Regions from separate parts of the Homo sapiens genome. Here region 1 is linked to region 2. The links are contacts of gene promoters, found by promoter capture Hi-C in human tissues and cell types (Jung and others, 2019). All regions are on one chromosome and are shown on one strand. The core of a region is centred on a gene start or on the middle of the fragment in contact, and the rest is flanking DNA. Distances in the headings are between cores, read along the strand shown. Region 1 overlaps NASP (nuclear autoantigenic sperm protein). Region 2 holds the start of TEX38 (testis expressed 38).

The links. Contacts are between HindIII fragments. The study calls those that stand out against the background at their distance.
Region 1: a contact is called between a fragment that was not itself captured here and the fragment with the promoter of TEX38 in region 2, in 1 of the 25 tissues and cell types used here (aorta).

What each region holds. Positions count from the first base shown.
Region 1 is chr1:45,597,012-45,602,612 of GRCh38, forward strand. It overlaps NASP (nuclear autoantigenic sperm protein), which reads left to right. Exons shown (of 15, transcript NM_002482.4): 3 at 5,244-5,354. Among named protein-coding and RNA genes, the nearest start is that of NASP, 16 kb to the left of the region's middle. The HindIII fragment of the contact is 7,294 bases long and covers 1-5,601 here.
Region 2 is chr1:46,668,714-46,674,290 of GRCh38, forward strand. It overlaps TEX38 (testis expressed 38), which reads left to right and starts at 3,141. Exons shown (of 2, transcript NM_001145474.4): 1 at 3,141-3,258; 2 at 4,160-4,881. The coding sequence starts at 3,222. The coding sequence ends at 4,743. It overlaps EFCAB14-AS1 (EFCAB14 antisense RNA 1), which reads left to right and starts at 5,323. Exons shown (of 3, transcript NR_038828.1): 1 at 5,323-5,506. RefSeq lists an enhancer at 1-100. The HindIII fragment of the contact is 2,938 bases long and covers 1,101-4,038 here.

The sequences.
Region 1 (5,601 bases), core at 1,567-4,066, 1.1 Mb before region 2:
GAAATTACCACTTGTTGGCTGGGCATGGTGGCTCACGCATGTAATCCCAGCACTTTGGGAGGCCAAGGCAGCGGATCACTTGAGGTCAGGAGTTTGAGACCAGCCTGGCCAACATGGTGAAACCGTCTCTACTAAAAATACAAAAATTAGCTGGGTGTGGTGGTGCCCGCTTTTAATCCCAGCTACTGGGGAGGCTGAGGCACAAGAATGGTTTCAACCCAGGAGGTGGAGGTTGCAGTGAGCTGAGATCGTGCCACTGCACTCTAGCCTGGGCGACAGAGCAAGACTTTTTTTTTTTTTTTTTTTTTTTTAAGACAAATGACCACTTGTTGGGTTTGGGTGTGGTAACAGAAGAATATCCAGTTATCTGAAAGGACTGTTTAAATATTCTGTTTCCAACTACATATCTGTATCAAGTCAGATATTCCTGTACTTTAATGAAAAGAAAACACGGTAGAGTAGTGAATATGAAAATCCTGTTCTCTTCTACTAACAGACATTTAGGAGATTTGTAAAAATGTAAAACAGTGCCACTATTCTTACCAAATTTTTGTTTTGAAGAGTTATTTTTCAAAGAAAGTCATGTTATTAACATGTAACATTTTAAACTATTTAAAATTATTTTAGTTTTAATTTCAGTATGGCAAATACTGACAGATATAACTTGGATACACAGAGGCTTTTTGGGGGGCTTCAGTAACGTAACAGTGTAAAGGATCCTGACATCATAGTTTCTTTGCTCTTACATAACACCAGCATCTCCGTTTGTTCACAAGATCCCACTCATTATTTACTTAATAATAGAACTCCTTTAGTTCTTTATGCAACAATACTCTTCTTGTTTCCTATGAGATTACTTATATCAGCCCACTAGGTATCATCAGATTTAACCGTTTGTTGACCCCCTCATACTTCCCTTCGTCTATTACCTCACATCAGTTTCTTTGACAGGAAAATGTGAAAGGTGTCCACTCTGTTTATCTGCTACTACTTTTGTTCTTAATTGAAGCTGCTTCAATCAAGTTTTTCTCTACCATTCTACTAAAATAGTCTTGTTTATGGTCTTTAGTACCATCCATATTCCTTACTCTAGTAGTCATTTCTCAGCTCTCTGAGTTAATCTTGTCAGTAACATTTGACCCAATCCATTACTCCTGTTACTTTTTTTTTTTTTTTTGAGATGGAGTCTTGCTCTGTCACCCAGGCTTGAATGCAATGGCACGATCTTGGCTCACTGCAGCCTCCTTCTCCCAGGTTTAAGCAATTCTCCTGCCTCAGCCTCCCAAATAGCTGGGATTACAGGTGTGCACCACCATGCCCGGCTAATTTTGTATTTTTAGTAGAGACGGGGTTTCGCCATGTTGGCCAGTCACTGTGCCTGGACCCATTAGTTTTCTTCATACTATTTTCTTGTCTCTTTTCCTTCACTGGCTATTCCCCTCAACCCCCATTCTTCCTTGTCGTCCCTACCTCTAAATGTTGGAAGGCTCCCAGGGCTCAGTCAGTCCTACAACGTCTTTATTAGTAGCCACTCCCTGTGTATTCTCCTCTGTTAAGTCCAGTGGCTTTAAGTACCTGACTCTCCCATTTGTATCTCCAGTCCCCATATCTCTCCCAAATTTCTCCCTTTTAATATCTTGGAGGTCTAATAGGGATCTCAGAATTAACATATCCAAAGCTAAATACTGTACAGTAATTGATTGCCTTGTTTCTCACTGGCTTTTCCTTCAGTTGACTTTTTAATCAGTCAGTGGCAATGTTGTTCTAGAACTTTTCATCTAGATTGTGTAGATTTGAATCGCTGCCATTAATATTCAGTTTTCCATCTGTAAAGTGGGGGTAATAATTCAATAACTTTATGAGGTGTAGATCCTAGGATTTAAATGTAGATAAAATTTCTACATAGTCCATTATTAACACTTAATACCAGTTGCCCCGGCCAAAAAAACATTTGCTTCACCTCTTTCATTCAATAAATTATATATCTAGTCCATTAGCAAATTTTAAAATAAGTATATTCAGAATCTAACCCTCTCTAATACTCCTCAGGTTCCTGTCTAGATTTTTACGGTTTCTTTCCTTTTTTTTTAAATAGAGAAAGAGTGTTTTTGTTTGTTTGTTTGTTTGTTTGTTTGGACATAGGGTCTTGCTCTGTTGCCCACGCTGGAGTGCAGCAGTGTGATCCTAGTTCACTGCAGCCTTGAATTCCTGGGCTCAAACAGTCTTCCTGCCTTAGCCTTGCGAGTAACGGGGACTACAGGTGCATACCGTGATGTCAGCTAATTTTTGTATTTTCCTATAGAGATGCTAGTCTCTAACTCCTGGGCTCAAGTGATCCTCCCACCTTCGCCTCCCAAAGTGCTGGGACTACAGGCATGAGCCACCATGCTCAGCCTTAGACTTTTTCTTTTCTTCTCTTTTCTTTTCTTTTTTTGAGATGGAGTCTCGCCCTGTCACCCAGGCTGGAGTGCAGTGGCACAATCTCGGCTCACTGCAACCTCTGCCTCCCTGGTTCAAGCAATTCTTCTGCCTCAGTCTCCCGAGTAGCTGGGACTACAGGCACACACCACCACGCCCGGCTAACTTTTGTATTTTCAGAAGAGAGGGGGGTTTCACCATCTTGGCCAGGCTGGTTTCGAACTCCTGACCTTGTGATCTGCCCGCCTCAGCCTCCCAAAGTGCTGGGATTACAGGCATGAGCCACTGCTGCCCGGCCAGACTTTCTTTCCAACTGGTTTTCTCCCCAGTTCTGTTCTTGTTCTATCTTAAAGTCTATACTAATGTGATGCTGCTCTCTCCCTCTTCCTCACCTTTATTTCCCATAATTCTTCCCCAGCTTACTCTAGCCAGAAGAGTTTTCTGTTTCTCAAATATTTTAAGCAAGCTTCTTTTAGAGCTTTGAACTTACTATTGCCTCTGTCCTAGAGTGCTTTTCCTCTGTATTTTTTTTTTTTTTTTTTTTTTGGCTTGCCTTCTTAAGTTCTCTGCTTCAATTTGACATTGTCCCTGTGGTCTTAGCTCATTCTTGTTATAATCACAGTGTCTGGAATTGTGCCCAGCAATATCAGGTACCCAAGTATTGTTGATTGAATTAAGAAGAGGGATTATCCTTCCAAATAATTTGGTTTTCATTAATGGAACTTAAAATGTCACTGACTCTTGCTCTTTTGACCCAGGTTTTTCTTAAAGCTATAAGAAACATTAAATGAAAGTCTAAGTGACATACAGGAAACTGCACATAACTTTAAAGTAACAATTATGAGTTTCTACATATGTATACACCTGTAAACCATTATCACAATCAAGATAATGAGTATTTTCATCACCTCAAAGTTTTTTCCTCATGTGCCTTTGTACTTCATTCCCTCCCCAGCAACCATTAATCTGCTTTCTGTCACTGAAGATGGGTTGCATTTTGTAGAATATTATCTAAATAGAATCATACAGTAAGTACTGTTTCTTTTTGTATAGTTTCTTTGATTCAGCATAATTATTTTGAGATTCATCCATGTTACCACCTGTATTAATAGTTCATTCTTTTTGTTAGTGAATGACATTTTATGATGTAGATATATCACAATTTGTTTATCCATTTGGGTTTCCAGTTTTTGGCTTACAAATAAAGCTGCTGTGAATATTTGTGTACAAGTCTTTGTATGGGCATTCATTTCCATTTTTTGGGTTCACACCTAGGAGTAGAATGGCTAGATCATATGGTAGGTATATATCTAACTTTAAGAAACGTCCAAACTGTTTTCTAAAGTGATTCTACCATTACATTCTTACCAGCAGTGTTTGACAGTTCTAGTTGCCCTACATCCTCACCATCATTTGATATGTGGTCAGTCTTTTAAAATTTTAGCTATTATAGTGAATATAGCAGTATCTTATTGTGGGTTTAGTTTGTATTTTTTTGAGTGAGCAATAATGTTGGCATCTTTTCATGTGCTTATTTGCCATCTGTGTATCTTTGATGACATGTTTGTTAAAATCTTTCGCCCCCTTTTTATTGGATTGTTTTTTATTACTACGTTCTAAGAGTTCTTTATATATTCAAGTCCTTTATCAGAAGTTTTGCATATATTTTCTCCCAGTTGGGCCTGCCTTTTTTGTTTTTATAACAGTGTCTTTCAAAACCAAGTTTTTCATTTTAGTGGTGTGTCTAGTTTATTGATTTTTTTTCCTCTTGTTAATAGTTTGTGCTTTTTCTTTCATATTCAAGAAGTCTTTGCCAAAGCCAAAGTCACTAAGATTTTATCCTGTATTTTCTTGTAGAAACTTTATGGTTTAAATCTTATATTTAGAAAGCCTATGATCCATTGCAGATTAATTTTTGTATGAGATATGAGATAACAGTTGAGGTTCACTTTATTGCATGTGGATTTATAATTACTCCAGCACCATTTGTTAGATTATCCATTCCTCATTGCATTGCCTTGGTACCTTTTTCAAAATTTCAGTCAGTCATATATGCATGGATCTGTTTTTGTACTCTGTGTTCTATTTGATCCATTTGGTTTTCTTTATGCCAATACTACATTGTCTTAATCTTGAAATCACTGCCTCTTGCCCTGTTTACCTAAATGCTTCTTAATTTTAATATTTCTTTTAGCTAGTGCAATTTGTATGAATTTATGGTTCTTTTATGATACCTTTTTTATTTGTGGATCAATTAGGAAATATTTATAGTAATATACAATACAGGCTTTGTGATTAGATGAGCCGTTAAGAGAATTTTTTTTTTTTTTTTTTTTTTTTTTTTGAGGTGGAGTCTCGCTTTGTTGACCAGGCTGGAGTGCAGTGGCGCATCTCAGCTCACTGCAAGCTCCGCCTCCTGGGTTCATGCCATTCTACTGCCTCAGCCTCCCGTAGCTGGGACTACAGGCACCCGCCACCACGCCCGGCTAATTTTTTGTATTTTTAGTAGAGACGGGGTTTCACCATGTTAGCCAGGATGGTCTCGATCTCCTGACCTCGTGGTCTGCCCGCCTCGGCCTCCCAAAGTGCTGGGATTACAGGCATGAGTCACCGCACCCAACTGAGAAAATACTCTAGTCAGGCTTCTGGGAATGTTGCCTTTAAGATTTCTTTTGATTTTGTGATGGTAAATAAGTGTGTTAGCCAGGCCTTGCCAGAGTAGTCCAAAAGTTTTAAAAAATGAAACTATTGCTCAAATGTAGCAGGTATTCAAAAAATACTGATTTAAACAGTACTTGACACTAGAAAAAATCTTTTTTTTGCAGTCTGGATGTGGATAGTGAAGCTAAGAAACTATTGGGTTTAGGACAGAAACATCTGGTGATGGGGGATATTCCAGCAGCTGTCAATGCATTCCAGGAAGCAGCTAGTCTTTTGTAAGTATTGTATATTTTGCTATGATGTAATATTATGTTCTAATAAACCTTGAGTTATCAAAAATTATTTTATGGGGAAAAAGCATGAAGAGCAAGAGTTTTAAAACATTTGATTATTTTTCATGTGGTTTGTACCAGTAACTATAAGTGTAAAACTTAAATATCACCAAGCAGTTCCACCCTTTCATTTTCCTGAGTATGTAATTTGTATTCCAGTCACTACTAATTTGGGTGACCACACCTTGTC
Region 2 (5,577 bases), core at 1,891-4,390:
TTCAGCATCGAAGGTCTTTTCATCAACTATAATCACAGCAGCAAGCTTCTCTTTACTGAGGTTGCTATGTGCAGGACACTGAGCGGCTTCATACTCTGTGTGGCAGTATTATCCTCATCTAACAAATAAGGAAACTGAGGCCGAGAGTAATTATGTGACTTGTTCAAGTTCTACCCGACAGCTGAGCTCTTTTCAAGATGGCAGCTGCCTCCCAAGCCTCCTTTTCCTCTGCTTCCTGACATCCTCCTTGAACTCCAGCCACAGTGACCTATTCTCTCCCAAAGAAACACCAGGATTACTCCTTGAAGAGTCCTTATTCAGGCCCTTTTTGACCCCTGGAATCCTCTCTCCTTCCATTCTCTCAACCCAAATGCCACAATCTTCCTTACCGTCTGAACCAGGTGTGAGCTCCTAGGGTCAGGGACAGTGACATTAACATCTCTGTGTCCCACCTGCTCACAGAACAGGGCCAGTCCTGGAGTGGGCTCTCTGGGACAGTACTCATCATCAGGTCCTTCTTGTCTGGGTTTTGTCTGATTGAAGCCCCTCCTGGGACAGGGGCAGAGCCTTCAACTCTGCTCAATCCAACCTATGCTCATGGAGATCAGCCCTGAGCCCTGCCCTGTGCGAGGAACAGTGTAATGGAAGATGAATAAGTCCTTCAAGTATGCCAGCCCATACCTGGCTCACACTCCTAACACTTGCTGTTTTCTCTGTGGATCTGCATGTGGCTGCCTCCTCATCATCTAAGGGCTCAGTTCACATGTAAGCACCTCCAAGGGACCTAAATGACAACCCCTCCATCTCTTTATAGTCTTTATCCCATCACTCTATTGCATTCTCTTTATAGCAGTTATCATTATCTGAAGTTCTTAGATCCTTGTTTATATTAATTCATTGAGCTTACATTCTAGTGGAGTGAAACAGACAGTAAATATATAATGTTAGGTGATGCTACATGGTATGCAGAAAAACAGCAGGCCAAGAGAGATAGAGATAAGGGGACACTTGAGCAGAGACCTGAAGGTAATGTGGGAATGCTGGGGGAAGAGCCTTCCAGGTAGGGGAAACAGCAAGTGCAAAGGCCCTGATGAGGAGGTTATTGAGTCTGAATGAGTGAGGGCACAGCAGCAGAAATGAGACCAAGAAGGTATAGGGAGGGCTAGTTAGATTGCTTAGGCCTTGGTTAAGGACTTTGATTTTAAATCGAATGAGATCGGAAGTTACTATATGTTTTAAGCAGTGGAGTAACATGATCTACTTTTTAAAAGGATCATGCTGGCTGCTGGTGGGATTTAGGATATGTGGAGGCAAGGATGGAAACTCTCCCAAGGGTGACTAATTTATTCCAGTTTGCCTAGGACTTTCTTGGCTCTAGCATTGAAAGCCCCATGTCCTGAGAACCCACCCCAAGTCCTGGGCAAACCAGGATGTTGGTCACCCTACAGGGAACAGTAATCCAAGTGAGAGATGGTGGTACTTGGACTAAAGTGATAGTGATAAAAAAAAGTGGCCAGATTTTGGTTATATTTTGAAATAAAAGCCTAAAGATCTTGCTGATGGAGTCAGTGTGGGTGTGATAGAATGAAAGGAGTCAAGGATGACTTGCAGGTTTTTGGCCTGAACAACCCGAAGGACAGAGATACTACTTATGAAGAGGAGGAAGGCTGTAGGTAGGGTAGACTTTGGAGGATGGATAATCAGAGTTTGGTTTTGGACATGTTGGTTTGGGATAATTTAACAGACTGGCAAGGAGGGATGTCAACCAGGTATTTGGGTATGAGTCTAAAGTTCTGAGGAGCATTCCAGGCTGGAGAGATACAGTTGCGTACTGTCAGTGTATAGTGATATTTAAAGCCAGGGGTCTGGGTGAGATAACTGATGGAATGAATGTAGATAGAGCACTAAGAACTGAGCCCTAGACATGCCTACATTTAGAGATCAGGGGAAAAGGGAGAAACCAGCAAAGGAGACTGGAAAGTAGGGGCCAGTGATATACGAGGAGAACAAGGGTAAGTGGACCCTGGAGAGAATTCTGTGCTAAATAGTTCCCTAAGTCACACATTGGAGGACTATAAAGAGGGGAGTCATTAAAATGGTGCTAAGAAGCTGAGCTACAAGCAGTGGTGCAACATACTGGGAAGGCTGACTTAAGCTTAATTAGGGAAGGGCTTTCTAACTGAGCTGCCCATAAATGCATCAAGCTGCCTCAGGAGGTGGTGAGCAAGTTCCTGACTCAAGTGAGTCTTGAGTCCAGGGAGATTAGTTGCTGTGTGGGGAAAAATCTACCCCCAGGAGTCAAGCATGGCCCTGATGGTGGGATCAGATGGTGGAGATGAACTAGACAACTCTCAAAGTTTCTTCAAATTGGCGATGATATGATTCTGGGCAGTCTGTCACAGAGTAGGGGGGCTGAGCTGAGTCTTGAAGGATGAGCAGGTGTTCAGTGGTGGAAAAGTGGGCAGGGGCACTCCTGGGTGAAGGAGCAGCATGGGCACACCTCCAGAGATGTGAATGAGCAGGGTCTGTTCAGGAGTACGGACTAGGCAAAAGGGAAAAGTGTGTGGAGGACGAGGAGGGAAGTAAGGCTGGAAGTAGATGCAGGCCAGATGGTGGGAAGCCCCACAGGGCCTGGGGCCTGGGAAACACTTGTCAGCACTTGAAGGAAGGTAATTAAATAAAAGACAGATTGTTGGAGCCAAAGAAGGAGGTATTGACCACTTGGTTCCCTTGAGCAGGTTTCTTCCTGCCAACTTGGTTAGATACTTTTTGAGAACAGGGCTGCCCAATGCTGTGTGTTCCTTGTTACATTCCTCACTGGGGACAGGTATCCCATCAACCGTTCCCTAAAGACCAGCAACATCCGTAAGTACCTGAGGGACAATGGCCCTTTTCTGGGGTCTGCTCTGTGGGTTCACCATAAGGGGTAGGTACAGACAATTCAATAGGTGAACCAGTCTCTGATGGAAGTAGTAGTGACATTCCACCCAAAAAATGCCACTGGATGAAGTCCCCTCCTTCCATTAACCCAGGACCACTTCACAAGCACTGCCCCTAGAATGCCCAATTCTCAGAACCCAGTGACCTCTCCTTTAGAGAACAAAGGGCCTGGGCATTCTGGAGACTCTGATTGGCTGGGCAGATGGGCTGACTGGCTGGGCAGATGGGTGGGTGAGTTCCCTCTCCCCAGAGCCATCGGCCAGGTACCAAAGCTCAGCTGTATGGATTCCCAACAGGAGGACCTGCGCTTCCCTGGGAGTAAGTGCTCCTCCAGTCCCTGTCACTGGACTTGTGCCTTAGGGCTTGGGGACAAACACTCAGGGAAGGCCCTTTGCATGGATGGGACAGTGCCTGGCTGCCTGGAGGAGAGCTAAGCAGTTAGGAGATAGTCTACTCTAGAAAACTAAGAATTATTTTAAGGCAAAGACCATGCTCTGATCAACCAGAGAAGATACTATCAATAGCCCAGGACTATCACAGCTGAATGGAATGGGATGGGACATTGGTGTCTCTGTCAACTGATGAACTTTCACTTTTTTTTTTTTTTTTGAGATGAAGTTTTGCTCTGTTGCCCCGGCTGGAGTGCAGTGGCTCAATCTAGGCTCACTGTAACCTCCACCTCCTGGATTCAAGTGATTCTCCTGCCTCAGCCTCTGAAGTAGCTGGGACTGCAGGCATGCACCACCACACCTGGCTAATTTTAAAATTTTTAGTAGAGACGGGGTTTCACCATGTTGGCCAGGCTGGACTTGAAGTCCTGACCTCAAGTGATCTGCCCACCTGGGCCTCACAAAGTGCTGGTGAACTTTTGCTTCTTGATGGACTTGCCCATAGTGAAACTTCTCAGTCTGATGGATTGGATGGGTCCTGGGTTAGGAATCAGAGGCTTGACTGAGCCTGGGCAGCACATGCCCCCGCTAGACCTAGCTTTTGTGATCTGTAAAGAGTTAAAGGTGGTGCTTAAGCTCCCTGGAAATCTAGCTTTGACTGAATAAGGGAATGATGAGGCAAGTCAATAAGGGAGGGAAGGAACGGTGAGAGTAGTTAAGTGGATGGAGCGATTGATGCATGGGTTAAGTGAAAGAGGAATGAGAAACAGCTCAGGCCCCAAGCTACAGCTATCAGCCAGCATGCCTCTTTTTCTTTCTTGCTGCCTTAGTGTGGGTCTCATTGTACTTTGGAATCCTGGGGCTGTGTTCTGTGATAACTGGAGGGTGCATTATCTTTCTGCACTGGAGGAAGAACTTGAGGCGGGAAGAGCATGCCCAGCAGTGGGTGGAGGTGATGAGAGCTGCCACATTCACCTACAGCCCATTGTTGTACTGGATTAACAAGCGACGGCGCTACGGCATGAATGCAGCCATCAACACGGGCCCTGCCCCTGCTGTCACCAAGACTGAGACTGAGGTCCAGAATCCAGATGTTCTGTGGGATTTGGACATCCCCGAAGGCAGGAGCCATGCTGACCAAGACAGCAACCCCAAGGCGGAAGCCCCTGCTCCCCTGCAACCTGCACTGCAGCTGGCTCCACAGCAGCCCCAGGCCAGATCCCCATTCCCACTTCCCATCTTTCAGGAGGTGCCCTTTGCCCCACCCTTGTGCAACCTACCCCCCCTGCTGAACCACTCTGTCTCCTATCCTTTGGCCACCTGTCCTGAAAGGAATGTTCTCTTCCATTCCCTCCTGAATCTGGCCCAGGAAGACCATAGCTTCAATGCCAAGCCTTTTCCTTCAGAACTGTAGCCTCCTCTCACTGAAGGTGGGAGCTGCAGGAATCAGGTGCAGAGTAGGAAATGGAACTAACCTCAGGAAGGTGGTATTGACAGAGGTCAGGACCCACCTGGATGTCATGCTATGAAACATTAAAAGAAAAAAAAAAAAGTCCAAGGCTCCCTCGTTTCTCATTTGCTGTTAGGAAGGCAATGTCCTTCCTGTCTGATGGGGTCACTTTGCAAACCAAGTTGGTTGCTGAGTCTCACCAATATGAACTGGCACTGGTGGTTGGCTGTGGGGAGACACACTGAACCAGTACTTGTGGATGGACTCAATATCCCTCTGTTCAGTATTTAAAACAAAAATGTGTGCCAGGCCCTGGCCTAGGTACCCCAAGGCACTGGTGTTCTGTGGGATGTGAAGCACAGCTGCCACCAGAGTGATAGCTGCTGAGGGTACGTGAGCTATGTTGATTTACAGTCGCTATGTCACAGGCAAAATGAGTCATCACGAGCCCTGTGAGCCACACTGCACTATGGGCTGAAATGCATTCTTTGTTATTATCTATGATGTATGCAGCTCTTACGTGGTTGCCTCTTTACATTATTTCTAATAATTCACAAGAACACTGCCAAATGGATATCATGATCCTCCTCTTATGGATGAAGAGACAGGTTCCAAGGGCATATGCCATACCTTTCTTAGTTGCAGAGCCAGTTCTCAAATCTACATCTGCCTTGCATCAAAGTTACTGGTATGAAAGTTATTGATCATCAGTTGCTTGGCATCAAAGGTACTGATCTTCCCACCATACGCCATAGTGCCCCTTCCCTAATGATATGTCGTGTTAGAAAACACTTGGTG